Regions from separate parts of the Homo sapiens genome. Here all the other regions are linked to region 2. The links are contacts of gene promoters, found by promoter capture Hi-C in blood cells and fetal thymus (Javierre and others, 2016). All regions are on one chromosome and are shown on one strand. Each heading gives the region's core, a stretch centred on a gene start or on the middle of the fragment in contact. The rest is flanking DNA. Distances are from core to core; before and after follow the strand shown.

Region 1 (2,745 bases), core at 104-2,603, 260 kb after region 2:
CCTCATTTTAAGCTGTATGGCAACCATAGAAGCCGATACTCTAATCTCTGTTTTACCAGTAAGAAAACTGAGTCAGAAATAATAAGTAACCTCTCCAAGGTTTGAGCATTTTATGCAAAAATCTCTTGCTGCTCTGACCAAATGATTGGAACAGCCTCTGTTGTTTTTCTCTAAACTCCAAGGAGTTGTGTAGTATCTGGATATAGACCACCTCATAAGAGTTATGTCTAGCCAAATAACATCAAGATTTTTCCAGATGGGATCAGCTTAGTCATGGTTCTTCAGAATTCTCAGAATCATACTGCTTACGTATGTCAAGCTCAGTAGTACATAGTAAAATCCAAAGGGTAAAATAAGGAGCTCACTTTTCTAGATATTCTTCCCTGCTGCAAACTAACTATGGTTCCTTCTTATTCAGCCATAGCACTATGCCTCACCATAAAATAGATACACTATAATTTATTTTTAACAATTGGTCTAACTCCAAATTATTTTGTCAGCACCTTATAGATGTTACAGTGAGCAAAGGAACGTAAAATACTCATGAAATGTTTCTACAGTTCTATACATGAGCCATATGAGGTAGCAGTTCCATCTTGTTAGGACCTAATTCTAGTAAATGAATTCCTCCTCTGCTCTTAAAACTGCCTCTCTTCAATACAATTTCCCACAAATGCCTCCTGGAGAAAATGCCAGCAACGACTTTCACATATTCCATTCTCTCAGGTGGATGTGTAATTTTATACAGTCCCTATCTGCCGCAGGTTCAGGTTTCATTATTTTTTAGGGTTTCCATTATTTATTCTTCCTGACAGTTTGCTTTGTTAGACTACATTGCTGAAGATCTCTGGAATTAAAATACAAGTTAGCAGCACACATTTTATGCTACGGTAGTATAGTAAGTCACTTTATGGTGTCTTGTTCTTTGGTGGTTCCATATGATATTTGTCCTTCCGTCTCACAGTCTGTGGCTAACACAAACTGATTGTAAGTACATAAGGAATTGCCATATTCTTTTCCAGAATGGCTGTACCATTTTATATTCTTACAAACAATGAATAAGGATCTACTTTCTTCACATTCTCACCAGGATTAGATGTTATTACATTTTTTTAAAAATTTTAGCCATTCTGATAGGTGTGTTGTGATATCACATTGTAGTTTCAATTTGCATTTCTTTAATGGCTAATGATACTGAACAGTTTTTCATGTATGTTCATATTTATATCAATGAACTCCTCAGAATGTCCCTTTAAGAAGAATTGAAGTCATAGCCAGTGTTTTCCAATTGAAAGTTAACTTGCATTGCCTTAAAGAAATGTTTAGACATGATCAGTAAATTCTGTGCTTATTGAAGTATTGGTAAACTAGGATTTGAGGTTTTGGCCAGTTACTGTGGGTAACATGTACCTATGAAAATCCTGAGTTCCAAAAATCATCTTGCAACCTATGTTTATTTACTATTTTTTAAAAAATCTTCTAATCATTCCTCAAAGAATTTCAGGCAGCAGGCAGTTCCATTTCTTTGCATATTAGGAATTGCCTATATGTTTGTTTGCTTAGTTCTAAGTATTTTTTAAAGTTATTTATTCAATCATTCAATGAGTATACTTTTTCTATGCTAAGACCCAGGATAAAAAGCCACATAAGGCTCACAAAATCGCTGTTCAAAGAGTTTACAGTCAGTAAGGATTTTAAATAGACAAGGTCATCATTTACCAGTATGTTTCTTAAATGTATTTGTTTTTTCTGTGTTTCAAGTTTAATTTTAGGTTGTTATGTTAAATTTGTGACTAGCTGAAAAAATCAAATTTGGATGCTCATAGATTTCATGACACCCCTTTCTGACACCTTTCTAGTTTCCTTCCTTCTTCTCCACTTTTGCAGCGAGGCATGGAGAGGAGAAGAGAGGCCACAGTGCTCCTCTCTTCCTTCCCCTTCCTACTTCTGGCCAGCTACCAGACAGCAACGAGCAGGAGGCTCATTGTTCCTAGGCTGTCCTCCTCAATCCTATCACAGAGGACTTAAAGTCTGGGCCTCCAAAAACTTTTGAAATTAACAGAAGAAATGTCACTCCTGAAGTATACATTTTTAAAAATCATAGAAATAACCAGTTCATTTTCTAAATTGAGCTGTCAGGAAAAGTACCCTTTCATCATAAGGAAATGTTGCTCACTATATGGTACAATGTAAAGCAAGCTCTAGAATGGATTTGGGTCTCTTTAAACCATTCAGTGAACTTTGGTGTGTGTGTGTACTCTTAAGTTCTGCATTCTGTTCAAGGTGCAGGAGATGTGAAGTCTTTCACACACTGTCCTTTGCTTCAAGGAGCTCACCCTTTAGTGGGAAACAGAAATATAAATTGAGAATTAAAATACAATGTCCAAAGGGTAGTTGTGGGGGGAGAGGATGTGGGAATGGTTACTGAGTACACAAAAATAGATAGAATGAATAAGATCTAGTATTCAATAGCACAGCAGGGAGACTATAGTCAATATAAATTTAATATACATTTAAAAATAAGGATATAATTGGATTGTTTGTAATACAAAGGATAAATGCCTGAGGGGATGAATACCCACCCCATTTACCCTGAAGTGATTATTATTCATGGTATGCCTGTATCAAAATATCTCATGTACCCAATAAATATATACACCTAATATATATGCACAACAAATTAAAAAATCATAATAAAATTAAAATATCCAAAGTGCTTCTGACTTATCATGGGGACATAGAAAG
Region 2 (2,700 bases), core at 184-2,683:
TCTAACTACAATGCCCTGAGAAGGGAGGTATTTCAGGAATATAGTAGACTACATGCTGCGTTCAGCCCATATCTGCAGGTGCATGTCTTCCTCAACAGCCAGCATGCCCTCATCGTGAGCGAGCAACCCCTTTCCGACAGTTAACATTACAATGTATCTTTTTAATTTTTTTTCTCAAGGACAGAAGAAAAAAATATTTAACAGAAATCAGTCTACTATTCTACCACTTGCTGAAACTAACAGTTCCCTTTACATAAATATACAATTTCTCCAACCAAATATCATATTTTATATTTACTCTCACTTCATGTTAATTTTTATAAAGGTTAAAAAAACAAATACTTTGTGATGATTTGCCACCCCAGCGGCACAAAATTTTCTGGTGCAAAATCGATTTGATCTTATTAATTAATATTGTCATTATTATTTATTTTTCACCAACTTGCTTAAGAGGTACATACTTTCTTTCTTAAGGTAGTGTTTTGACAGAGAGAACCTTAATGCTGAACTTTAGAAAAGAGAAACCAAAAATGTCATAAAATTTGCCAGGGCTAGACACACAAACGGGGTGCCCCCACACATTCATAGGTTTGGGCAAGCCCCCAAACCTTGGCTTACCCAGGAAGCCAAACCCAGACAGCCGTCTTGCAATTGCAAACACTGCCCCCCTGGAGCAAAAGGTAAATACACAAATGCTCCCCTAAGGAACTTTAAGTTAGCTGCAGTGCAAGAAAGGAAAAAGGTCCGTGCTATTAGAAACTGAAAGCAATCACTTACTTTTTGCAGCCACTGAGTATAATTTTCCATCACATGTTCCAGATGTTGAAGTTTCTGGGAAGAGAAATCCGGTTCCACGTGTGGAGCATCTCTCTGCAGAGCGTTTGTGTTGTACTGGTCTGTCGTACTCTCACGACAGTTGCCATCGTGTTCTGGAAGAATGAAAGTGTAGGCACATTGCCCATGTTGAATCCGGTTATATCTTCTCCCACTGTTTTCTGGACTTCGGCGCTGATTGCTGCACCCTATGTGAGTCAGAATGGCAGCGAGGAAAGCAAAGGAAAGGAAAACTGTCATTGTACTGCCAGCACACTCCTTCCGTGCCTCTCGCAAAACTTGCTCCTTTCTTCTGACCTCTAAAACTAGTTCTTTATTTCAGGTAAAACTGCTTGTTTGTTTGACTCTTTCCCCCTCAAAGAAAGCGTTTGAAGAAGAATCATAGAAAACTAGCCATTTGTTAGCTTTGTTCTAAAATTTTAAAATTTTTTATTTCACTGCAATGATGTTTTTCTTCGTTAAAACTTGAGATATTTATTGCATAGTAGCTGAGATTTATTGTTTCCTCTCTGTGTGACCGTTCAGCATGGAGCCTGCCTGAGTCAGCTGCGTGTACATATTCTAGACCCTTTCCTCTACCCTATCTGCTGCAGATCTGCTATTTTCTCCCAGACCTCAGTGAGTTTTATTAAGGTTGCACATCCAAGCCAAGCTGGAAGCAGGCAGCCTTTCACAAGATGACTTGACAGGAATGCATGAGTGTGCCCCTATACTAAGGATTGCTGATGGCTTAGGGCGGCGGGATCGTCTTACAAATTGGCTAGATGCGCATGACCTCGATCATGTATGGCCCTCCCGCCCCTTTCCACAGACAATTGCCTTGAGCCTTTAGCAGATTCATGGCAAATCAATAAATAGAGCAGTCCACCTTAATACACTTTTGGTGTGCATGCTGACCTACTAAAATATAGCAAACTAGCAGTATGTTTTTAAAGTTACTATTTAGTCGAGGGACCCTAAGAAGAAAATTGGCATAATGTCCAATGGAATTATTTTTGATAGAGAATGATAAACCCATATCATTATTAAATGTCTTTAAAAAACATGTATTCTTGACTCTGAGGAAAAATATGTTAAAAAACAGTTTTTACAGATGGTATTCTTTCATTGTATTCACTTAGACTTTTAGGAGTTGAAGAAAATAATCAGAGAGGATCAAATTAGCAAGAAAATTAGCATCATTTGTTGCTCAAAGCAATATGTTGCACAAAGCAATATAGTATGTGCATATTAAAGAGGGTTATCTAAGTACCTTTTGGTATAGGGTTCTTAAATGAAACTGGTGTCCTGATCAGAATGCAACCCTTCATGTTCTGTGTATATAAATTGAGCAACTTCCCTACAAAAACAATGTGGCTACAATTTAAAGCAGTGGCTTGAGAATTATTAATTCCTGTGGTATATCCTAATCCTGTATTTTACAAGGATCTCTTTGGTGGCTATGGCTGTCTTTAACACTGGTGTGGAAGTTCCACATAAAAACCTCCTGTGGCTGCACAGACATACTATGTGAGAACAAGCATATATCAGGTGTGCTAACAGCCAGCAATGGGCTGTACAGGAGACATCTCTGTGCTTCTGTGAAGGAAGAAAGAAAAATTATCAGAAGATGATTTCCCACAGGCAGCGTATAAACATTTGAACAAAGGGACCCATAAACATAAACAGGCAATAATTGTAGAATTTAGGGAACGGCTTTGAGATCTTTACTAGATGCAGAAAACCTGAATTATGAGTTGGGATTTTCATTAGGAACTGGGAGGGCTTTTAGACAACTGCAGTCATGGTGTGAAAACAGAAGCCACAGCTGTCATCTCCCATGTCTTGGAAGGAGAACAGGGCAGTGGGTGAAGGTCCGTAGTGGTT
Region 3 (2,700 bases), core at 39-2,538, 310 kb before region 2:
TGGCTTAAAAACCAAATTTGACTCATTTTTTAAAAAGTTCAGAGTAATTTCACTTAGGCTCAGGATTGTCCCTTTGTATGTTTACGTTAAATAGTAATTTAGCCTTTTTCTGAGAGGCTCCACCATTTGAACTACCATAGTGTTCCGCTTTGGTACTTAGGAGAAAAAGCATTAATTTTTATAAAAACTAGGAAGACAAGTGATTACTCAAAGGAGTTATGATCTGTATTTCCCTATTACACATAGGTATTCAATGCTGGAAAAAAAAATTTCACAGTTTCCAAAAATTTATGCTCCAATTGCTTTAATCTGCAAGGGAGATGTCAGGATTGCAGTAGAGGAGGAGGACTGTTTCTAACTGAGAAATCCCTGTCCTGCTCACCAGCCTTGCTGTCTGTGAATCTGAAGCCTTTTAAAATTTGGGAGAATTCATTCCCTTGCTCTTCACTTCATTATCTTAAGTTCATGAATGTTCTCCACTCTTCTCTGGCTCTTTCAAGAATAATTAGTACACTCATCAATTTCCCTGTCCTGGCTCATTTGACAAACAAGTGCCATATGAGTCAAATGTTTGCATTCTGTGCTGAGCAGAATTGAGGGGCAGTTTCTAAATCTGTAGGTTTCACAGCAGTGGTACTCCCAGGAGAGTCATAAGTGAATTTGTGGCAATGCAAGCAGCTCTGGACGGCTGACAGGGTTGCGTTACATCTTTGAATTGGCCTTTCATTTCAGTGATTAACAGGTGAGGTTCAGGAAGCCTTTTGTTTCAGCTCCAATTAATTCAACAGCCTACTTTACTTTGTTCCCGTCTATGAAACCAGAATACCAGGCTTCCAGAAGAATATTTCTGCACATATATTTTAGAAATGACAGAGCTAGAAAAATCAAATGCAAAGCTTGGTAGTAAGCATAATTTCCTGGGTTTTTAAAATAATTTAATAAACAGAATAAATTATTTCAAGCTATATATCTCCCTAAAAATTCTTAATATCACATTACAAATTATGATTGTTAAGCATTAAGATGAATCCTAAATCAGCCATTTTCCTGATTTTCTTCCTTTTCTCCCCAAGTACCTATACCTGGGCAATATAGTTGCTATTGCAAAGGATGATTATAAAGGAGAGTGGGGGATGTAATAATATAATTCGTTAATATTTGTTTTCATAGAGGGTTAACAAACTGCAAGAGTGAGTGGGCAAGATAACTCTTTTGGGAAGTTTCTCCAAATTGCATTGCTATCTCTTCTTTCATCAAGCATATGTGACATACCTACTGCATACTGAGTATTACAGTTGGCTGTGTGTGAGTACTAAGAAAAAACTACATTGTTTCTGCCTCTCTGAGAATGAGAGACACACCAGTGACACATAAAGAGTAATACACGTAGCTTAAAGGGTCAAGGAGTTAAAAATAGAAGAGATGGCACCCTGGATTTGAGGCTGTCAGAAGTTTCTTGACTTTTAAGAAAGAAAAAGGAAATATATTGAAGGCAAGAGACACAGAAGCAATGAGAATCAAGTATGTACACCAGAAGGGTAAGGCTGAGTCAGTGGAACATACTGGGAGGAGTAGGATGTCATTTAAATGGCTATGGAAGCTGTTATTCACAGGTTAAGAATAACGGAACTCATAGTGTCAGTGAAACGCTAGCTTCTTAATCAGGACTCTGATGTGGATAAAGCTTTTGTACCTTTTCTTACTGCCATCTGAATCAGACTTGATGTTCAGGAACAGTTAAAGCTCACGTATGAAAGGACAATTTGGACAAACTAATCAAGCATTAGTAATACGAATAATCAAGAGAGTGCTCAAAATCATCTAATGTTGGTTTGTTTTCCTGAGGTTAATAGTAATTAAAATTGATCAATATTAATAAATTTGTTTAATGGTTCCAAGTAACTTTAAATATTAAGAGTTCCTTTGGCCATCCATGTTTCCAAGTGATCTTCCTTAAATAATTATGAGGCAAATTTATTACCCGAGATGTGATCAAATCCAGACATCTAAGACAGGAAACCTACAGAGCAGGTTATTGACATATTCTATTCCTTATCATGACACTTAAAGCCCTGGAAAGTTAAGGGCTTCTTATTCACAAGTTTATGGGATTCATTGGAACCAACAATGACCTTGTAATCCCTGTAGTCAGTATTCAGAGAAATCTTGCCAACAATATAACTGAAAGCAGAGCTGTCATTATAAAATCTAGATTTAAAGTAGGGATTTATGATTGGTACAATGTTCATGATATGCATTGCAGTGTGAATTAGGCTATGATATAGCTTGACATTCACTGGAGATATTTTAAAAGCAAAACTTGGCTTTAGTTTTAGTCAATAGTTTCTTTATCTAAAACAGAAGAAAGTATTATCAATGCATCAATCAAAGTTTCAGAGATTTTGGAATGTGCAATTATTAATGGACTCGGGAGGCTTTGCAAATTGTCTACCTAAAATGACTTCAATGTTATTTTTATTTTTAATGCGAATACTAAAGTTATTTGATTATAGCAACTTTGCCTTACACTTACTCAAGAACAGATACATGATCCTGCTTTTAAGCTGAGTTTAAAGTTTAGAGAGATTCCAAAATGTAAGTAAACATTGTAATCAATACCACCCTTTTGACAAGACTCAGGGAAATACATTAAAAAAATGAAACAAATTTTTCTTCTAAAATGAAACATAAATTAACAAG
Region 4 (2,700 bases), core at 9-2,508, 310 kb after region 2:
AACCACAACTCTCTATCATAGAACACTGAGAATCAAACATATTGTTAGAAGTCAGATAATCCAACCTTTTTGCAGTTATATAAATTTTGAACATCCTTAATTAAAACATCATTTTTAACAGAGATCTTATGTTCTTGTCTTTCCAGCATCCTTTTCTTTGGTATTTTGTTAGCTACTCCCTTATTTTATTTTGAAGAACTATCCCTCCCACAATTTTATTTCATGTCGTTCTGGTGAAGCTGATTCTACTTCTGGCTTTTGTGAGAGGTGTGTTTTTTCACCAGTCTCAAAAGTGGCGGTTGAAATTATCTCATCTCCAGGCTGCAGTGATTGGCTCAGGGTGGACATGTGGCCCAAGCCAAACCAAATATAGCTAATCCTGGGACTATTGCTGGAATTTTTTAAGAAACAGCAACTCTCTTTTTTTAAGGGATTGCTAATCAGGCAGGATATAGTCCTGAAACTTCTGGAGGCCACAGTGCTTCCTCTTGGAGACAGCCTGCCTGAGAATGAGGCCAACAGAGAGAAGCAGAGGTTGTGGTTGGAACAAATAATGTTCCCGGAGACATTATTTGATTACCTGGATTTAGCCATGCTGGGACATTTTAGTTAAATAAACCAGGATATTCCTTTTTGGGCCAAAGGCAACTTATGATGAGTTTCTGTCCAATAAAGCGCAAAGCAACCAATTCACCTTCTACAACTTCCATGGCAGGAAGTGATTAGCCTTCTCTTTAATCATTCCAGATGGACAGATCTTCATTTTCTACCAGGACTCTGGGTATTGGGTTCTGAGGCTCAGTTCTTCCTTGTATTGAGCAAAATCTGCTGTCTTTAATCTGTACCCACTACTAATGCTTTATTTGTTCATGCAGTTCCTTGTTTAGTTAGGGAACGGCAAGTATAAGAGATTTGAGGTGGATTCGAATTTTTGTATGTTGAAGGAACACAAAGCAAAAAACCAAAAACTAATAGGTCTTGACCCTAGTGAGTGAGGGGCATGGAGACATAAGTGGGTGAAGGTCTGTCATAGGAAGATTGGAGTTCATTGCAAGAATAATGAAAAGTCACGGGAGTGTTAACACACAGGAATAGTGTGGTTTGAGCTACAATGTTTCAAAGATCCCATATTATATCCATTGAAGCACTAGAGGAAGCCAAATCTCTGTGCTACTGACAGTCCCTCAGAAAGTTGAGATCTCTGGTATCCTCCATAATTTTCTTCTTTTCTAGCTTAAATATCTTTGGCTTCTTCAACCATGTTTCATATAGGGTTTGTAGATTCTACAACAACACAGTATCCTCCTCCAAACTCATTGTAGTTTGTCAATGTGCCCTCTAAAATACAGTACTCAGATTGAACACAGTAACTCCAGATATTGCCCAACCAATGAATAATATGAAATCATTATTTTCTTTATTCTATCCCTCGAGCCCTATTGGTGCAGTCACATTTAAGGCAACCATGTCATCCTGTTAACTCTTAATTAAATCAATAATGCTAGCTGAGGGCATATTACTTTCAATTAAGTCAAGTTCTAATTAATTGTTATTTTGTGAGAGAAATATACAGAAACTTATTTTCTGAGTGGATTAAAGACTCCTTGAAGGTCTTTATATTACAAGAAAACAGGGACAAAAGTTGATCTCATTCAACTTTTGTACCTACAAATTGAGATAAGAAAAAGTGAAGTTTAATTTGAACAAATGACCCGATTGTATCTGGAATTATTAATTTGAACAAATGACCAGATTGTATCTGGAATTATAATCCCATTAGGGGATTAGCCCGTTTGTAGCCACCATGGAGAGAAGCCTTTAAGGAATACATATTTAAAGCCATTTGCAACCAGCTCTATTATTAAAATCAATTTTAAAGCATCATAAAAGTCTTTTGCTCCAGAATTAGAAACAGTTTTAACAAAAGCATTGAATTTTTATGTTTGAAGAATCTTTGGAAATCATCTGATCCAAAGTTTTTATTTTATAGATAAGCCAATAGCCATAGAGGCAGAGAAATGTCCAAATTGACTTATCCAGGCAATAATAGAACCAGAACCAGAACTTAGATCTCTTCTCTTCCATTCCAGCACTCTGCCTGCCATAACACATGCCTCCTTTCTTCAGCTTTGACTGTACACTTGAATGTTTTCATTTCAGGGGTCTGTCATTCATGAATGAATTGGGGGAGAACAAGAGTGAATGTGGGGAAAGCCATCTTAAAGATTGTTGCAGTGATTCAGGGAAGTCCAGAGTTCTGAAACAGGGGAAGGGTAGAGGAGGTATGTAAAGCTGCACATATTCCAGATATGGCTAGGAGTTTGAGAAAAAGAGAAAAAAACGAGGATGAACATTGAGTTTCTGACATGAACAACAAGATGGTTAGCAACGCCATTCACAGAAAAACTAGGTTATAGCGGTGAAAAGCAAGAGATTAGTTTGGCCCACTGATTTTGTGCAACATTCTACACACTCAGTTGGAAATGTCCTTTAGGCAGTTGTAGATACATGTCTGGGGTTCAGGAAGAGAAAGTGCAATAAGTACCTTTGGCTCACTCTTTCTTTGAACAAATAATATGGGAACATTGATTTACAGAGGGCTGTGCTATGCTCACAGAGACCACAGTGATAGGCAGGACAGGTTGGTACTGCTGTCATGAGGTTTTCACATTCACAGGACAGTGCAACCCAATGAGCATT

What was found. Contacts are between HindIII fragments. The CHiCAGO score rates a contact against its expected background, and 5 or more counts as called.
Region 1: a fragment that was not itself captured here is called in contact with the fragment with the promoter of ANGPT1 in region 2 in 1 of 17 cell types (neutrophils); the score reaches 6.0 in neutrophils.
Region 3: a contact is called between a fragment that was not itself captured here and the fragment with the promoter of ANGPT1 in region 2, in 1 of 17 cell types (megakaryocytes). The highest score is 5.6, in megakaryocytes.
Region 4: a fragment that was not itself captured here is called in contact with the fragment with the promoter of ANGPT1 in region 2 in 1 of 17 cell types (neutrophils); the score reaches 8.1 in neutrophils.

The regions. Positions count from the first base shown.
Region 1 is chr8:107,757,724-107,760,468 of GRCh38, forward strand. No RefSeq gene overlaps it. Among named protein-coding and RNA genes, the nearest start is that of ANGPT1, 260 kb to the left of the region's middle. The HindIII fragment of the contact is 3,812 bases long and covers 1-2,745 here.
Region 2 is chr8:107,496,485-107,499,184 of GRCh38, forward strand. It overlaps ANGPT1 (angiopoietin 1), which reads right to left and starts at 1,434. Exons shown (of 9, transcript NM_001146.5): 1 at 778-1,434. The coding sequence starts at 1,074. The HindIII fragment of the contact is 4,855 bases long and covers 1-2,700 here.
Region 3 is chr8:107,188,710-107,191,409 of GRCh38, forward strand. No RefSeq gene overlaps it. Among named protein-coding and RNA genes, the nearest start is that of ANGPT1, 310 kb to the right of the region's middle. The HindIII fragment of the contact is 788 bases long and covers 895-1,682 here.
Region 4 is chr8:107,808,668-107,811,367 of GRCh38, forward strand. No RefSeq gene overlaps it. Among named protein-coding and RNA genes, the nearest start is that of RSPO2, 270 kb to the right of the region's middle. The HindIII fragment of the contact is 5,175 bases long and covers 1-2,700 here.